2 separate regions of the Homo sapiens genome follow, and region 2 is linked to region 1. Evidence: promoter capture Hi-C in human tissues and cell types (Jung and others, 2019). All regions are on one chromosome and are shown on one strand. The core of a region is centred on a gene start or on the middle of the fragment in contact, and the rest is flanking DNA. Distances in the headings are between cores, read along the strand shown. Region 1 holds the start of ARFGAP2 (ARF GTPase activating protein 2). Region 2 overlaps DDB2 (damage specific DNA binding protein 2).

Region 1 (2,700 bases), core at 78-2,577:
TGGGGTGGGGCAGCTTGCTGACCTTGACCTGCCTCTGCCTGAGCCATGTCTTTGCTAGCTGGGCTCTGGGACCACACCATCCCCCTCAGTCCTTGACCCAGTTGCAGGAACAGGGCCTGGGCCAGGGCCACTGGCAGTGACCAATCCCCTTTCCCCCAGGGGAGGAGCTGCTGAAGATGAGTGAGGAGGACGAGCAGGGCTGGTGCCAAGGCCAGTTGCAGAGTGGCCGCATTGGCCTGTACCCTGCCAACTACGTGGAGTGTGTGGGCGCCTGAGTGTCCTGACAGCCCTTCTGCAACGTTTACCCACCCTGGTTCAGAGCCCAGCTTCTCCTGGAGAGCCGGACCCTCAGGGCCCTGAACCGTCGCTCTCTGGCTGCTCCTCTGTCCCTTGAGGGAGGAAGTCCTGGGACCCAGGGAGGGGAGGGGCCTTTGTCTAGGGAAGGGACTGGTAGGGAAGGGACGAGTCTAGGCTGAGGGCAAGATGGGAGGTCAGAGGTGACAGAAGCGTTCAGGGGTGCCTGGGCCTCCCCAGGAGCTGTGGACTCAGTTCCTGACCTCTGCTTTGGGGTTCCTGGGGTGGGCTTGGGGTGAGTGTAGTTCTGGCCTAGCAGCACCCTCTTGTGGCTTGTTCTAGCGTGTATTAAAACTTGACACACACCCACACACAAAAACAAAAACACCACTGTCGGGCTCATGTGCATTTTTTTGATAGGACACCCTTGCCAGGCCACCAGAGGGCATCTAGAGAGAGGCCTAGCGTCTGTTATGGGGCCGGGGTTGGAAAAGGGTTTGCCTGCTTGGTACCTGCTCTGGAACTTCGAGATACTAATCTGGAGTGGAGGGGACTCGCTGTCAGGCTTGCTGTTAACCGAGAACGGCTGAAGGCTGGGCGAGACGCGGGCCAATGCGTCTGCCCGTTCGGGCCGGAGGGACGAGGAGTGTTTGGGCAGCCTAATCCTTATTCATCGATCTGTAATTAGCTGGAGTGGGGGTCCCCGCCCCCAGCCTCCCGCAGCCTGCGCGGCGTGGGGGCGACTCCACCTGGGGGTTGCGGCGTGGGAGGGGCGGGGGGAAGGGTACTACGCGCGCGAGGAGGTTTGGGCCGGTCCGCGCGCCGTCGCCCCGCCCCGGCTGCGGATTGGCCCGGCGCGGCGTTGATTCTTGCGGCCGCGGTTGTCGTCGCCGCCCCCGTCCCGCCGGCTGCCCATTGGTCCAGATCGGACTCCAATCACCCCACCCCTCGGCTGGCCCAGGCACCGCTGAGGCCGGCCTGGTGAGCCCGCCCTCCCCGCCGTGGATTGGCCCGCGGCGGGACCCGTCAGCCGCGGTTGTGTCTGGGAAGGAGAGAAAATGGCGGCGGAGCCGAACAAGACCGAAATCCAGACTCTTTTTAAGAGGCTTCGCGCAGTTCCAACCAACAAGGTGCGTGAGCAGGGGGCGCGCGGAGTCTCTCGTCCCGCTGGGGCCTGAGGGAGGGAGAAGGGCGGAGGTGGGTTATGTTTCTGGGGTGTCGGTGCCTGGCCTTTACTCGGGGCCCCTGACGATTCGCTCATCGCCGCCTCCACCCAGGCCTGTTTCGACTGCGGCGCCAAGAATCCGAGTTGGGCCAGCATCACGTACGGTGTTTTCTTGTGCATTGACTGTTCCGGGGTGCACCGCTCCCTGGGCGTCCATCTGAGCTTCATCAGGTAGGCTCTCCGCGCGGTTGCCGTGTTTCCACCCGGCCGGCCAGGGGTGTCTGGGCAACAAGGGAGAGTGGCTGCCTCGACTTGGGCCGCTCTGAATTCGGTGGGAAGCCTCTGGGCCGAGAGGGTCCGGTAGCCTCCTGCCAGAGGGAACCACCTGTGTGGGCCCTTTGGCACATGGGCGGTCCGTCTCCGCCTCTGGGCCAAAACTTCCTCTTTTTTGACGGTCAGGCTTGAGACTCTGAGCGTTAGTTGAGGGGAAAGGGAGGCATTGACCTTGTTGTTGCTGATATGTTGTTAGACCAGTATGTCTCTAGTGAGACTGTGACCATCCATTAGGGGAAAGCCAAATCCAGGCGTGCGTGCCTGAGAATGTGACCTCCTTTCGGATCTGGGGACATAATTAGTACTCTTTGGAGTAAATGAACGAAGAGGAGAGTTTTCATGGACAGGGTAGTGTGGAGGAAATGGGGTGATGGCTGATTAATGTTTCCTGGGTGCCTACAGCAGCCTGAGGCCAAGTGACAGGTATCCGGGTTGCCAGGGAAATCCTGCTGGTATCTGCTAGTGGGTGAGACGCAGCCCTTGTACACAGGTCCACAGAGTTGGATTCCAACTGGAACTGGTTCCAGCTGAGGTGTATGCAGGTCGGCGGGAATGCCAATGCGGTAAAGCTCCTTCTACTTCCCTCACCTTCCATTCTTCTGCCTGGTTACTAACTTTGCACGACTCCCTAAGAGGCCCTGTCGTTTTCCCTGTTCAGAGGGTTCTCTGTTCTATAACACCACCATAAGCTATTTTCTGAAAACTTCGAAACTGGTCACAGCTTCTCTTAAATGGGTTTCAGATTCCAATTAAACTGGGCAGGTGTTCTTGGGGAAAAGCCACAGGAGTTGGGAGCCTTCACAGTCATTGGGTCTTGTGGGCCTGCCCTGGATGAAGGATGGGGAGGCTGGGTATGGGATGTTGTGCTCAGGCAGCGTTCAGTGGGGCCTGGACTTCAGTCATATCAG
Region 2 (2,700 bases), core at 90-2,589, 58 kb before region 1:
TAGGAGTTCAAGACCAGCTTGGGCAACATGGCAAAACCCCATCTCTATAAAAAATAAAAAAATTAGCTGGGTATGGTGGCGCATACCTGTAGTCCAATCTACTTCCGAGGCTAAGGCGGAAGGATTGCTTGAACCCAGGAGGTTGAGGCTGCAGTGAGCTATGTTTGTGCCACTGCACTCCAGCCTGGGTGACAGAGCAAGACCGTTTCAAGAAAAAAAAAAAAAAAAAAAAAAAGGATCAGCCTGGGTAACACAAGAATACCCTGTCTCTACAAAAAAAAAAAAAGTGAGGCAGGAGGATCGCTTGAGCCTGGGAGATCAAGGCTGTAATGAACCATGCTTGCCCCACTGTACTCCCACCTGGGTGACAGAGCGAGACCCTGCCTTAAAAAAAATAATAAAAAAATAAAAAATGAAGGTTTGTGGGTCAACTGTACACAGGTAACTGAAGCTGAGAAGACAGAACAGAGGGTCAGGATCTTAGAAAATTCTCACAGTGAGATCAGAGCTGGGCTGAAAAAACTCAGAAAAATATCTTATCAGCGAGACAGAAAACTCAACCATATGGGATGGCAGAAGTGGGATAAAAGGAAGAGAGAGAGCCAATGGGTAAGAGATGCTCTGTGCTCGGGCCAGGAGCGATCTGGGGTGGCAGGCTTACCACATCAGCCCTTCCCCACTGTGGGCAGACCTGCTCCGGCCTCATGATCACAGCCTCCTTCTGCGAGCTCCTTCCCACCGCCACTCACCTTGATGGGTGTGAGGTGCTGGAAGTGACGGTGAGGGTGCGGGATCAGGCCCAGGGGGCAGTCCCACTGGGAAGCAGAGTAAACTCGGATCTCGCTCTTCTGGTCCGTGGTCAGGAGCCGGGCTCCATCGGGACTGAAACAAGCTGGCAAAGTGAAAAGCCCCTGAGCTGAAGGAACCACAAGCCCTCTGTGGTCCTGGCCTTGCAGGCCTTCTCCTGCAGGGGTACTCTCCCTCCCACTCCTCTCTAGACAGGAGCGGAAAGGAAGAGGTGAATCTGGGCTGTGAACAACAACAAAAAAATTCTGGAAACTCAGCAGCTGATGGGGACAGCCACAGCCACAAAGGTTCCCAGACATCAGCTTGGCAGACGCTATCAGGGGTAAAGGTTTGACGTAGTGGCTTCCACACTGAGGGAAAACCCCAGCAGTGGTCAGACAGGCAGGGTCTGCAGGAGAGATGAGGTCTGGGATATCACACCTGCGTTGACAGGATGCCTGTGCGGCAGCGAGTAGAGGAAGCTGGCTTTCCCTCTAACCTGGCGCAGGTCCCAAATTTTCACTGTTTGATCTACGGAGGCTGTGGCCAGGAACCAATCACAGCATGGGTTCAGGGCCACATGCGTCACTTTCTTTTTGTGCATTCTGAGATTCCAAAGCTGCAGAGAAGAGCTCGGTTCAGGTGGGGACACAGAACCGAGGTGGGGGTGAGGGAGGGAAAGGCAGGACCTCGGAGAACGCACCTCTTTGCCGTCCATGTTCAGCAGGATCACGTTCCCCACGTTGTCTCCTGTGACCACCATTCGGCTACTAGCAGACACATCCAGGCTACAAAACCAGATGCTGGAGGGAGAGACTGTGTTGTAAGATTCTTGGGGACAGAGATAGTCCTATTTACTCACTGTTGCCGCTCCGGTGACTAACCCACAGCGGGCATTCAATAAATATTTGTTGAATGAATGAATAACTGTCTTGCCGTGGATTCCTAGTGAGGAACATTCAGACTGCTCTACCGTCCAGACAGAGGGGATGGGATAATGGGGCTCAGAAATCTGTCTGGTTATGGCTGGGCCCAGGATCCCCAGCTCCTAAAAGTCCCTGAAGCAGACAAAGCTTATACCATAAAGCAAGCCCTGAGGCACGCCTGCCCCCCACACCCCGGGTTCTGAGCAAGCCTCCTTTACTGCTCTCTCCTTTCACTCTTCACCCTTTAGGCCAAAGGAGACACAAGCCAAAGAGGGATTGCCTGGCCCTGTTCCTCAGAGCTGGCTAGAAAAGCACTTCTGCCCCCTTCTGAACACTGGGGGAAAAAACACAACCAGGAGCTCTTCTGGTCCCTCAAACCACTGGACTGGGAGGCTGACTAGGAGGGTGCTTCAGGGATCCTGCTATTCAGCCAGAAGAGCTCAGCTCACAGTTTTTCTCTCAAACTCTCAAATCCATGCTACACTGCCTTTTGCCATCCCCTATGAATATCTTCAAGCAGGAAGATTTCTTGCGGAAGAGTAGCCTGGAGCCTTGTCTATCCAATTGCCTGCTGATTTGCGTGCGCATGCACTCCTCATCCCTGCGGGACAGCCCAGGATCCAATCCAATGCTAGTTACACCCCAGCACCCTCACTTAATTCCTCAGGGAGCAGTCAGAGTCACGGCTCTAGCTGGAAATCAAAGTGACGAGTATTCTGTAATTTTTTTTTTTTTTTTTTGAGATAGATTTTCGCTCTTGTTGCCCAGGATGGAGTGCAATGGCGCCATCTCGGCTCACTGCAACCTCTGCCTCCTGGGTTCAAGCGATTCTCTTGCTTCAGCCTCCCAAGTAGCTGGGAATTACAGGGGCCTACCACCACGCCCAGCTAATTTTTTGTATTGTTAGTAGAGATGGGGGTTTCACCATGTTGGCCAGGCTGGTCTCGAACTCCTGACCTCAGGTGATCCACCCACCTTGGCCTCCCAA

What was found. Contacts are between HindIII fragments. The study calls those that stand out against the background at their distance.
Region 2: a fragment that was not itself captured here is called in contact with the fragment with the promoter of ARFGAP2 in region 1 in 1 of the 25 tissues and cell types used here (thymus).

Annotation. Positions count from the first base shown.
Region 1 is chr11:47,175,506-47,178,205 of GRCh38, reverse strand. It overlaps ARFGAP2 (ARF GTPase activating protein 2), which reads left to right and starts at 1,327. Exons shown (of 16, transcript NM_032389.6): 1 at 1,327-1,424; 2 at 1,572-1,690; 3 at 2,283-2,355. The coding sequence starts at 1,353. It overlaps PACSIN3 (protein kinase C and casein kinase substrate in neurons 3), which reads left to right. Exons shown (of 11, transcript NM_016223.5): 11 at 160-684. The coding sequence ends at 275. RefSeq lists enhancers at 200-249, 330-379, 227-808, 1,350-1,579 and a silencer at 870-1,299. The HindIII fragment of the contact is 14,797 bases long and covers 1-2,700 here.
Region 2 is chr11:47,233,462-47,236,161 of GRCh38, reverse strand. DDB2 (damage specific DNA binding protein 2) reads right to left here. Exons shown (of 10, transcript NM_000107.3): 5 at 1,490-1,589; 6 at 1,228-1,405; 7 at 750-892. Among named protein-coding and RNA genes, the nearest start is that of ACP2, 14 kb to the left of the region's middle. The HindIII fragment of the contact is 6,251 bases long and covers 1-2,700 here.